Regions from separate parts of the Homo sapiens genome. Here region 2 is linked to region 1. Evidence: promoter capture Hi-C in human tissues and cell types (Jung and others, 2019). All regions are on one chromosome and are shown on one strand. The core of a region is centred on a gene start or on the middle of the fragment in contact, and the rest is flanking DNA. Distances in the headings are between cores, read along the strand shown. Region 1 holds the start of NANP (N-acetylneuraminic acid phosphatase). Region 2 has its middle 81 kb from the start of LINC02967.

Region 1 (4,663 bases), core at 1,733-4,232:
GGTGCTATCCCTACTGAAATCAATAGGGATCCAGCACGACAGAAGGGGATGAATTCCAAATAAAACTATTAACAATTTTAAAACACGCTCACAAAATGAGGCCTGCACTCAGCCTAGCAATTCAAGCAGCGCTTCTGTTATTTTTATTTCAAGTCTGTGCACAAACATCACCTACTCGATGAGGCCAAATCTGACCAGTCTATTTAAAATGTTGATTTGTTACCCTCTCTGCTTTTTCTATCACACCTGTAAATATTTATTATGTTCACTGCCATACCCACTAAGAAGTAAATTCACAAATGCAGAAATCTCTTCTGCTTTGTTCACTGAGAAACTCCAGGCTTCTGTAGAAAAGTTCCTCTTGAGTAATTACCATGAAAAACAGGTCTAAAGAGGGAGAAAAAAAATAACTTCCCTAGGTGATTAGAAAAAATTAAAGTTGATACATACAGTCAGTATATGACCTCTTCTCCCCAAGCCCAAGGCCATAAATGGCTGGACCTTTCCCTCTTCCTCCATTCATAAATTATTATTATTTTTTGAGACGGAGTCTGGCTCTGTCGCCCAGGCTGGAGTGCAGTGGCGCGATCTCGGCTCACTGCAAGCTCCGCCTCCCGGGTTCACGCCATTCTCCTGGCTCAGCCTCCCCAGTAGCTGGGACTACAGGCGCCCGCCAACACACCCGGCTAATTTTTGTATTTTTAGTAGAGACGGGGTTTCACCGTGTTAGCCAGGATGGTCTCCATCTGCTGACCTCGTGATCTGCCCATCTCGGTCTCCCAAAGTACTGGGATTACAGGCGTGAGCCACCGCGCCCGGCCCATTCATAAATTATTTACAATGATTTGTAATTATAAAGGAGGCAGTAATAGAACCAAGTCTCGAAGTAAAAATTTGTATCCATCCATCCAGCATTTATTCAACATTTGCCATGTGTCAAACGAGGATAATTAAGACAGCTTGTTCCCTCCCAAGAAGCTCACTATTTAGTAGTAGGCACCTGAGTTGCAAAATTAATTGAAATATCCTTTGACAGATGCATTAAGAAATATCTGAACAAAATACAGCACTACTATAAGTGAGGGTGTAAAGACCAGGGAGGCATACGATTTAGTCTTTGTTTTAAAAATATTGCTGTGGCAAGAATGTGGAGGACACACTGGATGTGGTAAACCTGGAGACAAGCCCACAGCAACAGTCTAGGTGAGAGATGAGTTCAGCTGTAACTGAGACATGCACGGGGCATGTGCAGTGGTGGACAGACAGCGTACGAGGGTGGAAGGTGCTATAGTTCGCTGAGTGGACACTGCAACCATGGGCTTCCCAAGTATTACAGGGTTATTGAGGACTAATATAATTCACATTTTATGAAGATATAAGGCTCCGAGTGGTTAATTCCTTGAGGCACTTTCAGCTAGGTTTTGGGAGAGCTGTGATTCATATTCAAATGTCTGATTTTAAAGCCCAAACTCTGGGCCTACAGCAAGAATTGGCCTAAAGCAATAATTTAATTGAAATGCACAGGACTCAGCTTACTAATAACACACAGGTAAATATGTAACATCTGCAGCGAGAGATACTGGAGGCAATATGGCACAGGGTGGCACCCCTGAGGTGGAGGCCAACAAGTTAAAAGTGTGGAATGCCTCAGTAAAGTCATGAAGACAGACTTTAAAAATGTCTACTGATTCCGGCATTTTGGGAATGCCTAGTGATCCAGCAAGTCTATTTCAGTCTAGCGGTGAAGATAAAGCGACATTACGATGGATTTAGTAATAAATAGGAGGTAGAGACAAGGAGATAACGGGTATAGATTTCTCCGGGAAAACATGGCTGTCAAGAGAGACAGGCAACATCTACAGCAGGAAGAATAGCCCAAAGGGAGGCATCCTTTTTACAGCTTTTTTAAAACTATAGGGCAAACATGAATATGCGGCAGGAGTGGAATGCAGCTAAAAAGAAAACGGATGAGGTAGTGGAAGATCCAGGGACACAAAAACTAACTGATGAAGCATGAAGAGGACGGGGCGCTCAGGTTTGGATGAATTAGCTTTTGAAAGTGAGTTTTCCACATCTGATAAATCCTTCCCTTTCCCCTTGAAGCTGAAGGTAGAGAAAGGGAAGCCGGGGTGGACTGGGGCTGGAACACGGGAAGGTCTGAAAGCGCCTCCGCGCGTGTAGAGGGGCAGTGCCGCGGAGGAGCGCCTCAGGAAGGGCATGCCCTCGCAGCACGGGCTTTTGCTGTGTCACGTGTCAGAAAGCCACGGTGACCACCACCCCGCCAGGGAGGCCAGAAGAAGTTCTGCGGCGACAATTCTCTAAAGCAGGGCTTAAGTCCAGGCTCGGTACTGACAGCCGTGTCCCTTCTTGGGTCAACACTGGGGCTAACTCTACCATGTCTCCTCCCAGCAACCCCGAAAGTCGCATGGGGGACACGACCCTCTGTCGAGCTCCACACCGACAGTCTGACCGGGGGCGGGACCAGCGCCTGGTCTCGCGGCTTTGCTGTCGCCTCCCGCGCCCACGGGCACCTCCGCCACCGTGGCAGCCGTCACGGAGCCCTTCCGCGTCCCGAGCGCCAAGGCACCTGCGAGCAGCCGCTCCAGGGCTCGAGATTGGGTGACAAGCGGCCGCCAGGCCAGGGAAAGCAGACCCGCAGGGCCCGCGCGCCTCCAGCCACCTCCGCACCCGCACGCTCCACAGGTTTCAACCAGCAAGAGCGGCCCGCGGCGCCGGGGTGGAAGTGGGGTCAAGGGGAGGTGAGCGTGCAGGACGGGGCGGGGCGCACTGACCCCGCCCAGAGGAGCGCCATGGGTGGGGACGTTACCTCCAACATGCCTCTCCTGCTCGCCCCGGCCGTGTCGATGAGAGTGTTGTCCAAGTCAAAGAAAACCGCCCGCACGCGGCTCAGCCCCATAGCGCCGGCCGCTGGCGCGAACCGTAGCCTTGCCACCGCCGCCTGCGCATGCGCAAGGCGGACTGCCCAGAGAGACGTGGGAGGAGCCGCGAAGTCACCAGACCATCTCCCGGCGCGGGTGGAATTCCCGCGATCTGTCTCATTCCCTGCGCCGCCGAGAAAAGTGAGATCCCGCGAGACTCCCAGGGTATGGTCTCTCAAGAGCCCTGGAAACGTGTGTCGGCGCCGCCGGATGCGGCGACTTCTCAGTGGCTGTGGCTGGCGTTGGTCCGAAGCGTGGTGTTCTTCCCTGGTGTCTTTCTGCTTATCTCTTTCCTCCCTGGGCCCTCCGGCGCGAGGGACCGTCATCACCTCCCCGAGAGAGGTTGTCCGCGCTGCCAGGCGCTGGGCAGCAGGCTCTCCGGGTGGCCGGGCGGGCGGCGCGGAGACGTCGGCGGGCCTGATGTCTGCCTTGAGCGCCCGCGGTCCTAGCCTGCCTGTACGCGCAGGTCACTGTAGGTGATCTGGGGACGGGGGAAGGTGGAGCCTGCGCCTTCCCGCCTCGCGCCATTTGCGGCCTTCGCCGGGGTGGAATCCCTGTCTGCCTGGGCCCGCGCCAGCACGTTTCTGAAGGATGTGACTTGGGTCTCTTACAACCCGTTTAGTACCTGTGCCCTAAGACGGAGGGGCTGTGTAGTGGCTGCCCCATGTTTTGCCCTTCCTGATTGTTTTCCTGAAACCTTGCGTTCTCAGGTCTTTGGATGCCTTTTACTCGGTTGTTTTCAGGCATAGCAAGAGGTTGAGGGACGTCGACCGCCTTTTAAACCCGCGGAAGGGCTGTAGCAACTCTTGTCTCCTAGTGCTGGCAGAACGGGGATCGTAACACTAATCTCTAATCTTTGTCTCTCTTGGGTACCTTTACTGTAATTTGGATATGTGGTCATCATTAGTGACCAGAAATTGACTGTCAGGTACAGGCCAATTACCTGATTTTGTTTAGCCAGTGAGCTAAGTGGTTTTTTTTATTTTTTAATTTATTTTTATTTTTATTTTCGAGATGGAGTCTTGCTCTGTCACCCAGTCTGGCGTGTAGTGGCACGATCTTGGCTCACTGCAACCTCCGCCTCCCGGGTTCAAGCAATTCTCCGGCTTCAGCCTCCTGAGTAGCTGGGATTACAGGCGCATGCCACCACCCCCCGGCTAATTTTTGTATTTTTAGTAGAGACGGAGTTTCACCATGTTGGCCAGGCTGGTTCTCGAACTCCTGACTTCGTGATCCACCCGTCTTGGCCTCCCAAAGAGCTGGGATTACAGGCGTGAGCCACCGCGCCTGGCTAAGGGTGATTTTTACATTTGTAAATGGATTTAAAAAATCAAAATAACAGTGTTTTGTTACACATGAAAATCAAGAAATTTTAGTGCCCATAGTTGCATTAGAACACAGCGCACACATTCATTTCTGTATCGTCTGTGGCTGCTGTTGCCATACAGAAGCAGACAGAGTTGAGTAATTGTAAGCGAGACCACGTGGCTGGAAATCCTAAAATATTCATTATTTAGCTCTTTAGAGAAAAAAATTGCCAGTCTCTCACCTCGCTGGTGGAACTCCTTAACAGACCACTGATGTTCAGTAGGTTAGATTAATTGGTTTATCTTTATATTAATAGGAGTTTCTTCTGCAGCGTTAGACTACCTACAGTTTCTATATTTTATGGAGCACAATCACAGTTGACATCTCATTGCTATGGTGGAGAATAAACCCATAGG
Region 2 (5,236 bases), core at 2,347-4,846, 790 kb before region 1:
AGGCCACTGTCCCAACTGCTGGCTCCAGGACCCGGCCCTTCACCATGATCCAGTGAGACAGGAGAGAGGTTGGCAGGGTTGAACGGAGGTAGGAAAAGGAGCGAGGAGGGCAGGAGATGGGGTTAGGAAGCCCTTTTTCAGAAGCAGTATTCCTCCTGGCTGGATTTCTTGCAACACAAATCACTTTGAAATATTTAGCATTCATTTCCACTGGAGCTGTTCCTCTCTCTCCACTTCTTCACTAAATGTTAGGTTGAACCACATAAAACTGCCACTTTTGTAAGTCAAAGATGGGATGGGACTATATTGGTGATTTTATGTGGCTCACCTGAAACTGTCATCACCTCTAGGCTGGGCAGGGAGGGGAGTAATCCTGGCCACACCCAGGCCTCTCCACCTGGGACCTCTGCCCGCTCCCTGAGCGAGATCATGATGTCTCCTGGCTCAGCGGACATGTGGTCTCCAGCATTATTCTCCAGAAATGTCCACTGAGCTCCCCTCCAATTAATCTGTTCTAAGTTGTGTTAAGATATGGACAAAATGTCCCCTGAGCAATTTTCCAGGATGATAAATGATTACATTAACCTTTCCCTGACAGGTGGCTTTCTCTGTGGTTGGCCCTTTGTTTCTGTCCAGTTGGGCTCAAATGGCTAAGGGGTTAGAACAGGGGCATGTCTTGTCCAGCGCAGTACATGCCACATGCCTATATGCCACATGTCTACTCTCCATGCCTACATACCACATACCTACTCACCATGTGCCTCTACACCATGAGTCTAACCTCCACATGCCTACCTGCCACATACCCACCCTCCACCTGCCCACCCTCCACACACCCACCCTCCAGCTGCCTACCCTCCACACATGCCTACCCATCACGTGTCTACCCTCCATGTGCCTAAAACCACGTGCCTACACATCAGGAACCTATACACCACCCACCCACACACCAAATGCCAACTTCAGTACTGCAAACTGCAACAAGCACATGGTACTCAGAATCCCTTAGCTCTGCAAGTGACCTTGGAAAGTCCATGCAGCAAAGGAACCTTCTTCCTTGCTGATAGAGCTATGATTTTATGTGGGTCCCCACTTCATCCTCAGCTGCAACTTCTGATGGACCACATGGATCTTGTGATCCCATTCCCCTCGACTTAGCCTGTTTCTAACTAATGAGACAGAAGAGGAAGTCTGCTGAGAGTCTGGGAATGGCTTCTTGCTCCTAAAGTGTTAACACTGGTGTATTAATCCGTTCTCACACTGCTATAAAGAAATACCTGAGAGTGGGTAATTTATAAAGATTTAATTGGCTCACATTTCTGCAGGCTGTACAGGGGACTTCTGGGAGGCCTCAGGAAACTCTCAATCATGTCACAAGGCAAAAGGGAAGCAAGCATGTCTTACATGGCCGAAGCAGAAGGTGGGGAGTGGCAGGGTGCTACACACTTTAAACAACCAGATCTCGTGAGTACTCACTCACCATCACGAGAAGCAGCACAGAGAGGGAAATCTGCCCACGTGATCCAGTCACCTCCCACCAGGCCCACTTCCAACACTGGGGATGACAATGTGACAGGAGATTTGGGGGGACACAGATCCAAGCCCTATCAACTGGGAAAGAGCATTCCTTCTCCTTATCTGGTGGTTACCATGCACGGACATTGACGGCTGCAGCCCAGGAAGGGTCTGCCTGGAGCCAAGAGCCCATCACTCAACTGCGGGTCAGAGAGACTCGGGTCCTTGGCAGCACAGTCAAGCCCCAGGGCAAGGAGAGGTTAATGTAATCACTTCCCTTCCAGACAAAAGACAGAGTGGCTTTTCTTTTGTTTTACCTTAAGAAAAATTAAGATAGTTTAATTAGGACTAACTGGGAAAAGCAAGAGGAAAGTCAACAGTTTAATGAGGATTTCTGGAATCTGGACTACTGGCTTCTTTTCATGTTAGATAATAAATTATTTTCCCATTTAAGCCAATTTGAATGAACATTTTTAGTTAATTTGCACCCAAGTCACTCTGATTGAGGGTCAACTAATCTACCTCCTATTGCTAGGCAGAAGTTTCTCATCTCATCCCAGACAATGGGGACCTGCCTTCCCTTTAGAAGTCACTTTAAAATGGAACTACACAGTCGCCTTTTTAAACTGATTTAAAACTGATTCCAGTATTTAGTAAAACAACAGAAAACAACTCCTCTTCACACGTAGCCCACCTGCTGTTTAAAGCTCCCTTATTTCCTGATGTTAAGGTTCCCAGAGACAAGCGTGTGTTCCCTCTGTAGGCAGATTCTCCTACAGCTCAGAAGCCCATTTGGCTCAGCCATAAAACCCACCCTTGCTGCCACGAAGATGAGACTTTCCTTTGCTTATCCATCAGGTTTATGAAATTAAATAATTAAAACCTAAAGTTGTTGGAACTTTAGATTATTCTGATCCCTGACAGGAATGTGGCTTTGTGGCCTGAGTCACGCAGCACGCAGCTGTAGCTCTGGCTTCTTCCTGTAAGTGATTCAGAAAGACCTTGTGGCGCCAGAACTAAGACCCCTCAGATGGTCAACCCTGCTCATGGAATGCTAAAGCAATATTCCTTAGAATGTAGCAAGCTGCCACCGATCAAATCACTGCAACATATGTACAGGCCTTGCATGGAAGATGCTGGAATCCCCTAAACTTCTCTGTCTCTGTCTGTGTAAGTGAAGCCCTAACTCCCAACTTGTGGAGCCTTGACCCTGTTCCTTTGGAGTCTGTGTTTCCCAGGTGGCTAACCCTAAGCTTCCTGCTCAAATGAACTCAGCACTTAATCATGATTTCTGAATCTCATGATCTAAGGTTGACAGGTTGGTGCATTCTACCATGACTCGCTGTCATTGTTTTCAAGGAAATCTGCCTCTGCAACTATCACACTTCATTGAATTTAAGACGCTGTTGATATAACACCACTACTTTATATACTGCGAACAACAGAAATCCTCTGGCAGGAGAGCTGTGACATGCCATGAATTCTGCAATGTACTCCAATCTTGGAGAAGTTAAGATGTGTTTTTTTAAATGTGTATGTCTTAGAATCATTGAAAAAATGGTATTTTATTTTTGCACAGCAGTCGCAAAAATATCACAAAGGAAGAACATCAATGTTGGCAGCCTTTCCAATGGGCAAGGAAGCATCTCTCTGTGTAGCATCCCAGTAAACACACAAACACAGCTAAGGGAGATATCTCTGTGCTGGGAACCTCCTAGAATGTCTCCTCTCCTGGATTCCAGAAGGAGGTAAAGGGTGATTCACACCACATGGACTCTGGTTGTCTTCCTGAAGAAGGCTGGCCCTGCACAAGGGCACTCCCTTGGGATATGCCCCATGTTTTCATCCACAGTCACATGGACTCCTGTCATCTTCCTGAAGAAGCCAGGCTCTGCACAAGAGCACTGCCTTGGGTAATGCCCCATCTTTTCATCCACAGCCACCGCCCCATTGCCAACCATCTGCCTGAGCCCTGGTGAGGTGGATGGGCCCTACCTGGGACCTTTAGCCACTGGAGGTTTTAGAATGCCTCTTTGACATATTCTTTTCTGTGATTCTGTGTGTGAGGACATCCAGGAGCCAAGGTGGAGAACCCTGGATGGCCTTACAAGATGGCTATCTAGTTGTATGTTCCCCGCACTGGCCTCCCCTGAAACTTTCCCTGTACCACCAACCCACCCCTCCATCCATGGTGTGTGCATGTGCGTGTGTGCGCAGGCCCATGGTGGGCCAACAGCCCTGCCCCAGACATTGTCGGGTTCTTTGGGAGACTGAAGCCACAAGAGGTAACATGTGCAGCATTCAGTGGACAAGTTTCCTGCCACATGGAGAAAACTGGCTTCGGTGAGGCAGAAGAACAGAGCCAACATTAAAATAGAATGAGAAGACACACAGAGAGAAAGAGAGCCAATGGCATTTCCGTTTCTGTTTCCAGTTTTGACTCATTTAGTTGAAGCCTAGCCACATTCTCACACTTGGGTTCTGTAATACATTCCAGGATTCTTATAATAAAACCTGTGTTTTATTTCACTGGCTTCAATTAGGATGCCATCTCCCACAGCAAAAATGTCTAACAAGCATATCGACCATATTCCTGACCAGAGCAATGTATACAGCGCACTGATGGTGATGGTGCCAGCTTTAGGACCACGTGGAAAAAGCAGAGCAATTATTTCAAGAGTTGGGGATAAATAAAGGCAAAAAGTTAAAAAAGAGAGATATAAAGCAGAATTTGATTTAGGGGAAGTTTAGGAAAAAGACAAAACTCTGTAGTCAGGAAGAGTCTTGAGAGACCCAGCACTGGGCCACATAACATGGCTAAGCCCAGGGCCCAGGGGGACCAGACTCAGCGCCCACTCATGCCACTCTTGCAGGTCATCCTGCAGCCAGTACAGGGGTCTGACCTCCCACTTCAAGGGAACTGACCATGTTTCAATCAAATAATTGGTTTAGTAGAGAAAAGCCTGGACTGGTGTTGATGAGGCCCAGGTTATCAACTCCCTGGAGAACCCACAGTGATCTGGCTGAGCCTCTTTTTGCCCCTGTTCCTGAGCTGTTAAGTGAGAAGATTCAATGAGCTCCAAGGTATTTAATAGAAAACTGTTTTCAGTTAAACCCCAGCACATATAAATGTCAACATAGCTTATCTGTTGTAATAGACCTAGAAATCATAAAACAGGAATATTTCCTATGTAAACTGCCTGCAGTGAATGCTCTAGTTGGGACATGCTTGGGGCCCAGTGCAAACTCTTCCAGTGCAAACTCTTCCCAGACCCACCCCAGCCAATTATCCTTGGCCTCTCCTTCGGCACTCCTGTAAAATATTAGGACCCAGGGAACATGTAGGAAATGCCTGAGCCAGATGATCTTCGCAGTGGTTTCTTTCTGCCACATAAACTCTGGGCATGTCTGACTCCATCCATAGCCTCCCCATCTATCATTCTATCCTCACCCCAGACACATTCCTCTTTTTCTTTGGAAATGTGTCTCTCACCAGTCTTGTTTGAATGAGATGATCTGAAACATACGTGCAGAATCAAAAGTTAATAATAAAACCCTGTTTGTTAGGCACTCAGCCCTGGTTCCTGGGACCACAGAAACACTTGTTGATTTTCTCTTTTGAAATCACACACGGTGCAGCCACAGGAACCCAAGGCGAGCCACTCGCCAACTCAGAAGTGATCCCAATCGTCTAATGCTGCCTGGCCCCAGTGCTTCCTGG

The links. The method cuts DNA at HindIII sites, captures the fragments that hold promoters and counts their contacts. A contact is called where the count stands out against the background at its distance.
Region 2: a fragment that was not itself captured here is called in contact with the fragment with the promoter of NANP in region 1 in 1 of the 25 tissues and cell types used here (lymphoblastoid cells).

The regions. Positions count from the first base shown.
Region 1 is chr20:25,621,032-25,625,694 of GRCh38, forward strand. It overlaps NANP (N-acetylneuraminic acid phosphatase), which reads right to left and starts at 2,983. Exons shown (of 2, transcript NM_152667.3): 1 at 2,828-2,983. The coding sequence starts at 2,917. ZNF337-AS1 (ZNF337 antisense RNA 1) reads left to right here and starts at 3,014. Exons shown (of 4, transcript NR_126465.1): 1 at 3,014-3,104. RefSeq lists enhancers at 2,256-2,931, 2,903-3,072 and a silencer at 2,673-2,732. The HindIII fragment of the contact is 13,881 bases long and covers 1-4,663 here.
Region 2 is chr20:24,835,414-24,840,649 of GRCh38, forward strand. No RefSeq gene overlaps it. Among named protein-coding and RNA genes, the nearest start is that of LINC02967, 81 kb to the right of the region's middle. The HindIII fragment of the contact is 4,719 bases long and covers 1,238-5,236 here.